2 separate regions of the Homo sapiens genome follow, and region 1 is linked to region 2. Evidence: promoter capture Hi-C in human tissues and cell types (Jung and others, 2019). All regions are on one chromosome and are shown on one strand. The core of a region is centred on a gene start or on the middle of the fragment in contact, and the rest is flanking DNA. Distances in the headings are between cores, read along the strand shown. Region 1 overlaps ITPR1 (inositol 1,4,5-trisphosphate receptor type 1). Region 2 holds the start of ARL8B (ARF like GTPase 8B).

Region 1 (7,582 bases), core at 4,591-7,090, 320 kb before region 2:
GCCATTATTCACATAACAAAACATGATGATTATGGTCTTTCTGGGTTCCCCCCAGCCTACCTCCTTCCAGGCTACACATTTTGCTGAGAAAAGGCAGACAATTTGGAGGTGGGCATTTTGCTATTTGGGGCCCCTCGACAAGCATTCAAAGCTCCTCTTCTGTGATACATTCATGGCCCCTTTTCTGACATCCACAGCAGCCACCTGGGAGGTCCACCTCCCGGCTAAATTTTTCATCAGAGCTTTTTGGCAGATCACCTCACATACGCATAGAACAACCTGCCAGGAACCACCTTATGTGACAGAGAATGGGATAAAGAGCCCAAAAACCACACAGGAGTAAGTTTCAGGCTCCACTCTTTAGCTTAATCATGCAGACATCAACGGAAGCAGACATGTATGGGTAATGAGTCAGTTTAAGGACCAACTTGAAAGCGATGTTATGTAATGCTTATATGCCTAAGTTACCCTTTTGAGGAGTTAGCTTTTCTGTTTGACCTTAAGTTACGTGGAAGGCACCATCTGAATGCCCCCGCTCCGAAAAGTACAATCTAAACACAAGTCCAGGGGGGATTTTTTTTTTAATGTCATGTCAGGAAACATGAATGCCCGTGTCTATGTCTAAAAAGATTTGACTAGAACCCAGAGCTGCAAGGTTTTCTCTTTGGGGATGTCCACCTTAACCCTGCTGCCAGACAGCAGAGGAGTGCGTGGCAGAGGGCTAGTGAGGAGCTCAGCTGGCGGCGGCGGAGGAGGCCCAGGTCTCCTTTCGCCTCAGGGAAGTTGTCATGTTCCTCACGGCAGATTATTCAACCCTTACCTTGTCTGTGTTTTCATTTACTCTCCATTGCCTTAAAAATATTTCAAACAGATTTTATTATTCGCCACGTCTGTTTTCTTCACCGGTCATTTGTGGCAGCATTCAGGCCAGTTCTGGGGACAGGGAGTTAACAGCCCCCCACCCTTCATTGACAAGCCTCCTGCAGTGCCTTTCTTAGACTTAGGAAGTCCAGAGACTTAAGGTCTCTGCCTGGCTCCTGCCGCCCATTTGCCAAGCCACTCTGGGCAAGCCACTTCAGCAAGTCCTTGTCATCCTTTATGTGAAGAGATGTTTACATTAAGCCCATGGTTAGAAAACTTTGATATGGCTTCAGAAAATCCTGTAGAACCCGGGGAAGAACAGTTGGCAAACTAGTCAAGATCTCCAGAGCATGTGTTTCTTGCCCATCCAAGCTTGAGATCCCCTGGATGGTATGACTATCGAGGGTCCTTCCAACTCTAAAATGGTGCATTCTGAATGAGCCACCAACTCAGGCTGGTCTGCAGGAGGCAAGGATGCATGGTTTGGAATCATGGGCTTTAGAACTTCATGCTGAGGGACTAAACTGAGAGCATAATTCAGAGCTCCGAGGAGATTTGACCTGAGGCTGATATGACCCAAGGAAGCCTTTTCCATTATCTAGTAGCTGATACTGCCTTAAGTGCATCAGTTCACTCTCAGAGGGATTCTTTTTTCCTTTTGTAAGATGCATTGAGGGCATTTCCTATACTCACTGCTAACCATCCTCAGTAGAAGAGTTGTATTAACCCTGCCTAGAAACAAGATCTGGTTTGTTGACCTGAAAGTATTTCTTTGAGCTAATATGTGTTAGGATTTGTTGCATCCTAAAGGCAAGATTTCATAATGTCCCTCTTGAATGTGTATAATGGCCGTATTATGTGTGCTGATTTTGTGTGGTTCTGTGGCTTACAAGGTTTGCAACTGCCAAGAACCAGTGGCCTTAAAAGCTCCTTTTCAAAAGTATCACCGCCCCTCCACCTTTGTTTTAGAACTGACAAGTTACAGTCTTTCAAAAGCGTGCAACTCAGGCAGCTTCAGATTGCTTACTGAATTTGTGAGCATGCCGTGATGGCTAAAGCAAATGTAGTACTACTTTTTAAATGTTTTTATTATTGAAATTGTCAAATATACACACAAGTAGAAAGAACAGTATAATGAGCTACCATATATCTATCAGCCAGCTTTAACAATTTTGCCTATCTTGTTTCATCTATCCCCATACTATATTTTCTGAAACATTTTAAAGAAGTCTAGACATCTTGGATTTTTTGTCCATAAATATTTCAGTGTATAACTTATGAGGACATTTTAAAATATGTATAATCACCATGCCATTATCATATCTAACAAAACTAACAGCAAATCCTGTAATAGCCTGCCCAAATTCAGATTTCTCCAACTGTCTCAAAGATGTCTTTCTAGAGTTGATTTTTTGGAATCTAGCACTATGTTTTTTAACACTGCCGTTATAGTGAGGAGACAGCATTTTTACATTGGCCTCTTCAGGATTTGGGACATACATTGTACTGGTCACATTGATGATACTGAGATCATCTTAAGAGTCCATTTAAAATGGCATTAAGCATTTCAGAAAATGATAAGCCACAGACTGGGAGAAAATAGTTGCAAAATATATATCTGATAAAAAGCTTATGTCCAGAATATGTAAAGAACTCTTACAACTCAACAATAAAAAAACTATTCAATTAAAACAGTGGGCAAAGCATTTGATCAGACACTTCACAGAAGAAGATGTATGAATGGCCAGTAAGCACATGAAACGATGTTGAGCATCACTAGTTATCAGGGAAATGTAAATTAAAATCACCACACCATACCACTGCAAACCTACTAGAATGACTAAATGAAAAAGATGGGCACTGCCAAGTATTGGTGATGCTGTGGATCAGATGGAACTGTCATACACGGCTGGTGGGAAGGCAGTGTGATACATTCACCTTGGAAAACAGTTTGGTATTGTCTTTTAAAGTTAAACATATCTGTAGGATCCAACATTCTACTTCTCTATGTTTGTCCAAGTGAAATGAAAATATGTCCACTCCAAGAATTGAACATGAATGTTTCTAGTAGCATTATTTGTAATCACTCCAAACTGGAAACTCATTGATTGTTAACTGGACAAATAAATTGTAATATATCCATACTATAATATAGTCAGCAATAAAAAGTACAAAGTATCAATACATACATGGTAACCTGGATGCATCTTAAAAACTTGCTCAGTGAAAGAAGTCAAGCACAAAGGACTACCTGATAGGATTATTTTCCCATTTTTATGAAATTCTAGAAAGTGCAAAGCTATAGGGACTGACACTATTAGATCAGTGGTAGCTGGGGGTAGGGATGGGGCAAGGCATCACCTGCAAAGAGGCACAAGGAGACTTTTAGAGTGATAAAAATGTTCTGTATCTTGACTGTGGTGACAATTACATGCGGTGGTCACATGACTATATAAACTGCCAAGATTCACCAAATTTTACACTTAAAATGCATGGATTTTTTAAAATATTGATTAAGGACCATCGACTTCAGAGGCAAATGGTCTGCAGCCATTTGCTGCATCACTTTGGGCAAGAAATGTAACCTGAGACTCAGTTTCCTTTAGAGTAGACCGGGGACAGTAGGATGAATAAATGATCATCAACATCAAGGGCTTGACACGATGTCTAACAATTGTTAAATGCGTAGAAAGCGGCACATGTGCCTCAATGTGCACTTCTTGAATTTCTGAGAAACCTCTGCCTCTTTGTCCCCATTCCCAATCAGCTTTGCCTTTTGAAGGATTTCAAAAGGGAAGAGGTAAGTGGCTGGGCTGGGGGGAACAGTTGTTAAAGTGAGGCTGAATCTCCGCAGGCGTGGACTCAATGAACTAGGGCAGCCAGCAGCTGGTGGAAGAGCTGTGCCCTGCAAAGGTGTCTCCTCCCCAGTGGTGCCACAATCCAAGCATCTCTGAAGAAGTGAAGCTCCTTTATATAAGTGGCCTTAATCATGTAGTGCTGCTTGTTTACATCTGAAGGAGACTCAAAATGTGACAGCATTTGAAATAGGGGTGTTTTTTTTTTAATGAGTGTTTTACAGAACTATATTTTTAGCCGTGTTGGCTCATGTTATATAACCAAGCCGTCTCGTGGGACACTCTAAATAGAACTTGCAGTAGCAAGAGATGACAAAAATTGGTATAAGCTCTTTGACTGCAGGGATAATCTAATTGTAGCATGATGCTCATGACACGGAAGTTGCCTTTCTCCTTCCCTTGGAGAAATCTGATTCAGGCAGGGGACCTGCAGTTTTCCTTTGCATACTTTTAATAGAAATTAAGTTTAGGCTTCCACGTCGCCTTCTTTGAGTGAAGTGTGACACATGCATGAGTTTTATTTCTCGAACGAGCTTTTCGTGAGTACCTGCCAGGCACCAGGTACTTCCCCTGGGGAATGTGCAATCTGGTGAGAGAGAGACAAGTAAACTGACCATTAGGAAATAGTGTCCTGTAGGGATGACTGGAAGCAGGGAGTACGGAGGAGGAGGGAACTCCTGACATGTTTTTGTGGGGAGGAAGGGGATTGGGGGAGGCTTCCTGGAAGAAGTAATGTCAAAGCTAAGACCTGAGATGAATGAGAAGGGAAGAACTTCCCAGCAGAAGGAGCATGTGTGGAGGCTTGGAGGTCAAAAAATGCTGATGGGACTGGTTATGGATGGGGCAGAGAATTTGAGGTGAGAGTTGGGACTGGTAAGCCAAAAAAGTTATTGAGGAATCTGTAACAGTGCATGTTTTAGGTCTGTCCCCTGTACTCAGTGAAGGCACAGATTTGTGAGAGAACCCTGTTTTGTCCTTGCAGGAACCCTGGAGCCCCACTGGTCGGGACTCCTGTGGACAGCCATGCTCATCTCTCTGGCCATCGTCATTGCCCTCCCCAAGCCCCATGGCATCCGGGCCTTAATTGCCTCCACAATTCTACGACTGATATTTTCAGTCGGGTTACAACCCACGTTGTTTCTTCTGGGCGCTTTCAATGTAAGTGTGAATACCTTCCTTGCCACTGTTTTGTTTGCAGATTAATAGGAATGCCTTGCACTCTGGTTTCTAGAATCCTGGCCTGTGCTTTCAGTCCAGAAAATTATTGTTTGGGGCAACTGTTTAAATAGCCAGAAGCAGGGGATGGCTGCAGGTGGACGTCTCCCTCTTGACCTCCGCGTGGTGCAGTGAGCCTTGTAATGGATCCCTTGGGCATCAGCACTTTCACTTTTAGGGACTATCCCTGTCAGGAGATAGGCAGAAAAAGTGGTAGTGCTTTGAGATTTAAGTTAGTTTTGCCAATCTGGTCAAAGGTTTGTTGGGACAGAAGATTTTAGACAATAAGTGAAATGATCAAATATTAACACCGTACCCACTTCTGGAAAGGGCCACATAGAAAAGAGGGGATAGGTAAGAGGGCCTGGCCAAATACAGAGACAGGGCAGGTGGAGAGGGAAGAGGAGAAGCAGAGACAATTCTTTAAAAGTCAGTGGTGACATTTAGAAATGCTGTTTCACTACCATTGAAAGATAGAAGCCAATTTCATCTCTGGGAGAATTCTTAGGACAAACTGATATAAAACCATACATTGGAGAGGTTTCCTTGTGAAGGGAAGGAGAAAATTTGGACATGTGAGGCACTGGAGGATCTAAAAATGCCTTCCAGGGGTTTCTGCCCTGAGTATATAAGGAAGCTGAGGTCCCATGCAAAACTGGAAGTGATATCGCAAAATAATATAGTAATTCAGTGCAACAGCAAAAGCCCCAAAGGGAGTATTCAAATGGCACAGGCAGCAAGGACTTTAGAGAACAGGTCATGTCAAGCTGAAAAGCTTACAGCGGGGAGGAGGCAGGATGGAAGTTAGGGCTTAAGGAATGGAGGGCCAGGCTCGGTGGCTCACATCTATAATCCCAGCACTTTGGGAGGCCAGGGTGAGCAGATCACTTGAGATCAGGAATTTGAGACCAGCCTGGCTAACATGGCAGAACCCTATCTCTACTAAAAATACAAAAATTAGCTGGGTTTGGTAGCATGCGCCTATAATCCTAGCTACTCGGGAGACTGAGGCAGGAGAATCACTTGAACCTGAGAGGTGGAGGTTGTAGTGAGCTAAGATGGCACCACTGCACTCCAGCCTGGGTGACAAAGGGAGACTCCATCTCAAAAATAAATAAATGAACAAATAAATAAATAATTTTTAAAAAAAAGGGAATGGAGAGGATCTGGCCATGAAGCGGGGATTGAGAAGAGTTCTTTGGTTTCGTGGGCCCCATAGGCCAGAGCAGAACAGTGGGAAAGCTCGGGATGTTATCAACAGACAATAAATAAAGAGTTTCACCTCATTCGTGGTTCAGTAGTGATCAGTAGGAACTGATCCTGTGTAAGTCACTTGCAGCACTGAATTTTAGGATAAAGCAACTGGACTTCATCCCCCAGGTCAGCATTCCCAGAGCATATTCCACGTTGATAAATATGAGGTGAAAAAAGGGTTCCGTGATTGAATCCGCATGAAAAATGCTGAGGTAAACACAATGAAAGGTTTCATTACTGCAGGCTTCCTCACAGACTTTAATGTACTAATATGGATTAGGAACCTCCAAGGAAAACAGTGTCTTTCTGTTTCCCAAACTTATTTTCCTGCAGTTTTTTGTAAGTATCACTTGAGATTAGTGTTGTATAGAATGTATGTTGGAAACTCTGTTCCCAGTAGTGGAAAGTGCCTGTGGTGTTTTTGAGCCAAGAAATGGTCCATACAAAGAAGTATTCTTGAGAAAATGCATTCAGTATGGCTTGTTATGTGGATTCATCAGGAGGGACTAGAGGCAAGGAGGCTTTTTAGGGGCTGTAGCGACGCTTTGATTAGGTTTGAGAAGCCTGAGTCTTGGACATAGTGTAGAAGAAAGAAGGAAGGTATGGACGTCAGAAATGGGAAGGAAACAGGCTGGGCACCGTGGCTCAAGCCTGTAATCCCAGCACTTTGGGAGGCCAAGGCGGGAAAATTGCTTGAGGCCAGGAGTTCAAGACCAGCCTGGCCAGTATGCATGTGAAACCCCTCTCTACTAAAAAAAAATACAAAAATTAGCCTGGCATAGTAATGCATGCTTGTAATCCCAGCTACTTGGGAGGCTGAGGCACGAGAATCTCTTGAACCTGGGAGGCAGAGGTTGCAGTGGGCTGAGATGGTGCCACTTCACTCCAGCCTGGGTGACAGAATGAGACTGATTAAAAAAAAAAAGAAAGAAAGAAAGAGAAAGAAAGAAAGAGAGAAAGAGAGATGAGGAAATAGTAACACATGGTGGGCACAGAGTCAGAGCCTTACCCCACCCAGAAAGCAATGTGCTTCTATTAGTTCGTTCTCACATTGCTATAAAATGCCTGAGACTCGGTAATTTATAAGAAAAGAGGTTTAATTGGCTTGAGGTTTTGCAGCTGTACAGGAAGCATGGCAGCATCTGCTTCTGGGGAGGCCTCAGGGAGCTTTCACTCATGGCGGAGTAAAAGCAGCAAAGTTGGAGCTGGAACAGGAGGAAGCGGATGGGGAGGCGCTACACGCTTTTAAACAACCAGCTCTCTATCACTATACTGTATCCGGGACAGGTGGCGCTAAACTATTTATGATCCAGTCACCTCCCCCCAGGCCCCACCTCTGACACTGGAGATTACAAGTTAACAGATTTGGGGGGGACACAGAACCAAACCATACTGCC
Region 2 (6,792 bases), core at 2,609-5,108:
AGTCTTTTTTTTCTGGGAGAGGGAGTCTTGCTCTGTTGCCCAGGCTGGGGTGCAGTGGCATGATCCCAGCTCACTGCAAGCTCTGCCTCTCGGGTTCATGCCATTCTCCTGCCTCAGCCTCCCAAGTAGCTGGGACTACAGGCGTCCGCCACCACTCCCGGCTAATTTTTTGTATTTTTAGTAGAGATGGGTTTTCACCATGTTAGCCAGGATGGTCTCGATCTCCTGTCCTCGTGATCCACCCGCCTCAGCCTCCCAAAGTGCTGGGATTACAGGCATGAGCCACCTCGCCCAGCCTTGAGACAGTCTTAATCTGTCACCCAGGCTGGAATGCAGTGGTGCAATCTCAGCTCATTGCAACCTCTGCTTCTTGGGTTCAAGGGATTCTCCTGCCTCAGCCTCATGAGTAGGTGGGATTACAGGCATGCACCATCACGCTTGGCTAATTTTTGTAATTTTAGTAGAGATGGGGTTTTGCCATGTTGGTTAGGCTGGTCTCGAACTCCCGGCCTCAAGTGATCTGCCCCCCCCCCCCCCAAAGTCCTGGGACTACAGGTATGAGCCACCGTACACAGCCATGAACCTTGATTTTTTTTTGTTTCTTGAAAATATTTCCTGATCATCATTCCTTATCAGTTGACAGATAACTTTCTTCTTCTTGTATTTTTTTTTACAGCTGCATAGTATTCCTTTTTGGGGACACATCCTGGTTAATCAGTTCCCTATTGATAGACACTAATTGCTTCCCATTGTAAACTAAAAATAAAATCCTGGGCTGGACCCGGTGGGTCACGCCTGTAATCCCAGTACTTTGGGAGGCTAAGGTGGGTGGATAATGAGGTCAAGAGATCGAGACCATCCTGGCCAACATGGTGAAACCCCATCTCTACTAAAAATACAAAAATTAGCTGGGCTTGGTGGCTCGCCTGTAGTCCCAACTACTCGGGAGGCTGAGGGAGGAGAGTTGCTTGAACCCGGGAGGCAGAGGTTGCGGTGAGCCGAGATTGCACCACTGCACTCCAGCCTGGCAACAGAGCGAGACTTGTCTCAAAAAAAAAAAAAAAATTCCTGGGCTGGGTGTGGGCATGGTGGCTCACGCCTGTAATCCCAATACTTTGAGAGACTGAAGCAGGAGGATCACTTCAGCCCAAGAATTCAAGGCTGCAATGAGCTATGATCTGCCATTGCACTCCAGCCTGGGCAACTGTGCTCGACTCTGTCTCAAAATCAAATAAACAAACAAACTAAGTCCCCTCAACTGACTAAACAGATCCTTCCTGGACAAAGAGATCCTAGGAAAATCTTTTTTTTTTTTCTTGAGACGGAGTCTCGCTGTCGCCCAGGCTGGAGTGCGGTGGCGCCATCTCGGCTCACTGCAAGCTCTGCCTCCCGGGTTCCCGCCATTCTCCTGCCTCAGCCTCCCGAGTAGCTGGGACTACAGGCGCCCGCCACCGTGCCCGGCTAATTTTATGTATTTTTAGTACAGATGGGGTTTCACCGTGTTAGCCAGGATGGTCTCGATCTCCTGACCTTGTGATCCGCCCACCTCGGCCTCCCAAAGTGCTGGGATTACAGGCGTGAGCCACCGCGCCCGGCCTATCCTAGGAAAGTCTTAAAAACTGAGTTCCTTCCCTCCACAAGATGGGAAGTCAGTCACACCTGGTTATACCTCCTCCCTTATGTCGTTTAGAAACAACAAACGACCGGCCGGGCGCGGTGGCTCAAGCCTGTAATCCCAGCACTTTGGGAGGCCGTAGGCGAGCGGATCACGAGGTCAGGAGATCGAGACCATCCTGGCTAGCAGGGTGAAACCCCGTCTCTACTAAAAATACAAAAAATTAGCCGGGCGTGGTGGCGGACGCCTGTAGTCCCAACTACTCGGGAGGCTGAGGCAGGAGAATGGTGTGAACCCGGGAGGCGGAGCTTGCAGTGAGCCGAGATCGCATCACTGCACTCCAGCCTGGGCGACAGAGCGAGACTCCGTCTCAAAAAAAAAAAAAAAAAAAAGAAAGAAACAACAAACGACCAACATTAACGTTAAAATAGAGATCACAAGACTGACAGAACAGACTCTTTGTGACAATTAGATACCAAATTATAAACAGGACCTAAGGCCATACTAGGCAAGAGTTAAATGACTAAGTGCAAGGTTTCTCTTTTTCTCTACCAGCTAAACCAGCACTGGCCTGGAGATAAACACAATTAAAACAGTTACAACTCTCTGCCAGATGCAGGCTAACTGACCTGTTCCACAAGCCTAACTATGGCTTTGATTAGACAAGAGACTGATTTCTGTAACTTTCTCCTGTTAAGAGACAACTAACCATGCATCCATGCATTGGTTCTGGCTGGCTTTTTCTTTTCTTTCTTTCTTTTTTTTTTTTTTGAGATGAAGTCTCGCTCTGTCACCCAGGCTGGCGTGCAGTGGCATGACCTCGGTCACTGCAACCTCTGCCTCCCGGAGTCAAGCGATTCTCCTGCCTCAGCCTCCAGCATAGCTGGGATTACAGGCGCGTGCCACCATGTCCCGCTAATTTTTGTATTTTTAGTAGAGACGGGGTTTCACCATGTTGGTCGGGCTGGTCTTGAACTCCCAACCTGAGGTGATCTGCCCGCCTTGACCTCCCAAAGTGCTGGGATTACAGGCATGAGCCACTGCACCCGGCCTGGGCTAATTTTTTGTATCTTTAGTAGAGACGGGGTTTCACCTTGTTGGCCAGGCTGGTCTCAAACTCCTGACCTCCTGATCCACCTGCCTCAGCCTCTCAAAGTGTTTGGATTACAGGCTGTGAGCCACCGCGCCCAGCCCAGTTCTGGCTGGTTTTACAGAGGCCAAGCACTTCAATACCTTTCCCGTCCCTGATTCACTTTCTGATGTGGAGGGCCTGATTATAATACTTTTACTTTATTTATTTTTTAATTGTTGTTTTTTGAGACGAGGGTCTCACTCTATCACCCAGGCTGAAGTGCAGTGGCATGATCTCAGCTCACTGCAACCTTCGCCTCCTGGGTTCACACAATTCTCCCACCTCGGCTTCCCAAGCAGCTGAGGCTACAGGTGCATGCCACCACGTTCGGCTAATTTTGTATTTTTAGTAGAGATGGGGCTTCACCATGTTGGTCAGGCTGGTCTCAAACTCCTGACCTCAGGTGATCTGCCCACCTTTGCCTCCCAAAGTGCTGGGATTACAGGCATGAGCCACCGCGCCCTGCCTGATTATAATACATTTAAATGTTAAGTCGCCACCCCAAATGAACATAGGTCATATGCAACATACAGATTTGTTCACTATGTGTGTAAGACCACCTTCATACATATTAATAGCTCCTTCCATAAGTTAAATATGTTTACTTGGCCAACTCCTCAATATAAATTCTTGTTGCACCCTTCCCTCTCTCAAAGTGCTTACTTTTGTTTTTTTTGGCCCGAGGCTGCACGTCCTGCCTACAGCTTATAATCCCCTTCTTAAGAAATAATGCTCTCCTTTCTAAATTTATAAACGGTGTCATTTTTAAGTTAACACTATCTTTTGCTACTACCAAAAATGTAGGACAGGAATTTTTATTCCACGCCAACTCTTCCAGAGTCTTGAAGTCTTCCTGCAGATTGTTAATGAACAATTATAGCAAAAAATGAATGAATGAATTAACGAATGTATAAGTGGATGAATGACGAATGAACCAACAATGAATGAATGTAGAGAAAGCCTCAAGGGGGCCCGAGGGTACGCTGTGCTGCGGAGCATGCCCACCAGGTGGCGATGCCAGCGGCGGGCGGGCCTGGCCGGATTGGCCGCGCCGCTCTTGCCGTGGGTGCCGACGGCGGCGCCGGGACGGGCGTGGGGGGTAGGGCGAGTCATATGATCCGCTCGGCTTCCTGGGTCTGGCTGCTGCCGCCCGCCGGTGTCCGCCCGTGTCGCGCCGGGGCACCAAGGAGCCGTTGGAGGGTCCGGGCGGAGGCCCGCTCGTGTGGAAGTCGTCGACGCCGCCGCTCGTCCGTCCTCCCGTCCGTTCTCGCTCCCGGCCGCCATCATGCTGGCGCTCATCTCCCGCCTGCTGGACTGGTTCCGTTCGCTCTTCTGGAAGGAAGAGATGGAGCTGACGCTCGTGGGGCTGCAGTACTCGGGCAAGACCACCTTCGTCAATGTCATCGCGGTGAGCGCCCGCCCACTCACTCGCCCGGGGCTCCGCAGCCAGGAGTCCGGCCCGGCGCTTCTCCAAGGCCTGAGTTGGGGCCCCCCTCGGCGCGATGGGACTGATGGCGGGGGGCGTGCGAAGCTGGGCCTGTCATCTCCCGAGGGCCAGCATTTGGAATTTCCCGCGTGTTGGCGGCGCGGGGAGTAGCACTGAGATCGGCAGCGGAAGGGTTAAGTCAGTGTAGACATTTTCCAAGGGCTGTGTCCTCAACGCCGCGGGGGCTCGGAAAGAGTTAAATTGAACTCGTCACATTTTTAAAGCGCTTGGGGATTGGGGTTTCCCTTGGGTTTGCCCAGTAGGGGCAGCCAAAGAGTTAAGTCCAGTCTGTCACTTTCCCAAAGGGTGGGATTTGGCAAATCCGTCAGCCGTACGAGAAAGCGTAAGCATTAAGAGCCTCTCTTAAGTTGCCACTTTGGACCAATAGACCCATTGTGAAAGCGGGAGACCAGTGTGAGCGCCTTCCTGAATTCTGTGGGCCGCTGGTCCCATCTAATTCAGTTACTTGTTTTCACCCGTCCCCCAGGCGCGGAGACCAAGCTCATTGCTGAGCTCCAGCTAGCCCACAATACATAGTATTTATTAAGCTAAGAGTTAATTGTCTTAAGCGACTAGATAAGATGGATCTGCAGTTAGCATAAAGTTAACTACCCTGCGAAAGAGGAGTTGGTCTTTAAATGGTGTTTTTCACTTGAAGAGAAAAGAAGGTACTGGGCAGGAACATAGCTTAGCAGGCCTAGGGAATGGGTGGAAGGAAAATTGCACTGAGGACTTACATAGAATGTGGTGTTTGTTCAGCAATGATTGAGTAGAAAGGTGATTGTTTCGTTTTGCTTGTTTGGTTGGTTGGGAAATAAATAGGAGTGAAAGATTTCGCCTCGATCTTTATTTAGAGCCCAAGAGTTGTTGTGACTCAGTTTTAGCTGGTAGTGGCTTGTACACGCCAGGGGAGTTTTAGAACTGTTCTGAAGAGAGATGGCAGCAGTTCTTCCACCTTTTCGATGACTGTTGAAATCCTGAAGATTAGCTGTCCGACTGGTTAGGTTACACAAGATGATTCAAACACAGCTTTCATGTTTGAGAAAATAGGTAACTTGTGATTCTTAGTCCTTGCACTAATAAAGCAACAGGAATGAGTAAGTCTTGGAGAAAAAGAGATTAGCAGAAACCCCAAAGTCCTTTGAAGAATGATGTATATAAGGAAGATTTACCTGCTTGTTGTTCGGCTCCTTTTCTAGTAGTATTATTATTAATTTTTTTTCTTGAGACGGAGTCTCGCTTTGTCCCCCAGGCTGGAGTGCAGTGGCGAGATCTCAGCTCACTGCAACCTCCACCTCCCAGGTTCAAGCGATTTTCCTGCCTCCACCTCCTGCGTAGCTGGGATTACAGACGTCCTCCACCACGCCCGGCTAATTACTTTTAGTAGAGATGGGTTTTGCTTTGTTGCTCAGGCTAGTCTCAAAACTCCTGACCTCATGTGATCCGCCCGACTCGGCCTCTTAAAATGCTGGGATTGCAGGTGTGAGCCACCGCGCCTGGCCTCCTATTGTAATATTATGATTTTTTGCGCTTGGAATGACTATCTTTCCGCAGGAATAGAAGAGTGGAATGTGTATCTAATACCACTAATTTTTTTTTTTTTTTTTTTTTTTTTTTTCTGGTAGAGACAAGATCTTCCTATGTTGCCAGGCCAGCCTTGAACTCCTGGGCTCAAGCGAGCCTCCTGCCTCGGCCTCCCAAAGTGCTGGCATTACAGGCATGAGCCACCGTTCCTGGCCTAATACCACTAAAATTAATGAGGAAACATGAACTTCGGGTTACATATTTATATTAGAATTTTTTTCTTTTCTTTTTTGGAGACAGGGTCTTGAGCTTTCACCCAGACTGGAGTGCAGTGGTGCAGTCGTAGCTCACTGCAGCCTCCAACTCCTGGGCTTATGTGATCTTCCCTGTCTCAGCCTCCCAAGTAGCTGGGACTACAGGCATGTGCTACCACCATGGCTCGCTATTTATTTTTAATTTTTATTTTTTATAAAGACGGGCTCTTGCTATGTTGCCAGGGCTGGTCTTGAGCTCCTGGCCTCAAGCAGTCTTCCTGCCTTGGCCTCCCAGCATACTGGGATTATAAGCCTGCTAGAGCTTTTATATAATATGGAAAAGATGAGGCATAAGCTTGAGTGAAGTTGAGCTCAGTTAACTGTAAATTTTCTCATATCCCCTTGAGATGAGAATTGGAGTCATCTTGTAAAACTTGCTCTTTGACAACATGGAATTAATGTTTCATGTGGATAGGTGTATTAATACAGCCAGTTGTATTTGTTGCAGTTGAGTTGTTATGCTTGGGAACTCTAAAAAGTTGAGCAAATCTTTGAGAAACTTCTTGGTGATTTTTATGCTTCTGTTTTCAGTAGACAGTGTAGCTTAATGAGCATGACCTTTGAAGTCAGACAGCCCTGGATTTGAAATCTGGCTCTGCCGCTTAGCAGCCTTACATCCTCTTTGAGTCCTTACTTTCCCATCTATTAAATGGAGGTAATGATATGTTTCTTACAGAGTTGCTCTAGGGATTAAATGACATGAAAGATGTTAAGTGGCTAG

The links. Contacts are between HindIII fragments. The study calls those that stand out against the background at their distance.
Region 1: a contact is called between a fragment that was not itself captured here and the fragment with the promoter of ARL8B in region 2, in 1 of the 25 tissues and cell types used here (thymus).

The regions. Positions count from the first base shown.
Region 1 is chr3:4,795,727-4,803,308 of GRCh38, forward strand. It overlaps ITPR1 (inositol 1,4,5-trisphosphate receptor type 1), which reads left to right. Exons shown (of 62, transcript NM_001378452.1): 54 at 4,699-4,874. Among named protein-coding and RNA genes, the nearest start is that of EGOT, 48 kb to the left of the region's middle. The HindIII fragment of the contact is 7,959 bases long and covers 1,862-7,582 here.
Region 2 is chr3:5,118,434-5,125,225 of GRCh38, forward strand. It overlaps ARL8B (ARF like GTPase 8B), which reads left to right and starts at 3,859. Exons shown (of 7, transcript NM_018184.3): 1 at 3,859-4,155. The coding sequence starts at 4,033. It overlaps LOC124906212 (a long non-coding RNA gene), which reads left to right and starts at 4,626. Exons shown (of 2, transcript XR_007095800.1): 1 at 4,626-5,283. RefSeq lists a silencer at 3,665-3,924. The HindIII fragment of the contact is 21,507 bases long and covers 1-6,792 here.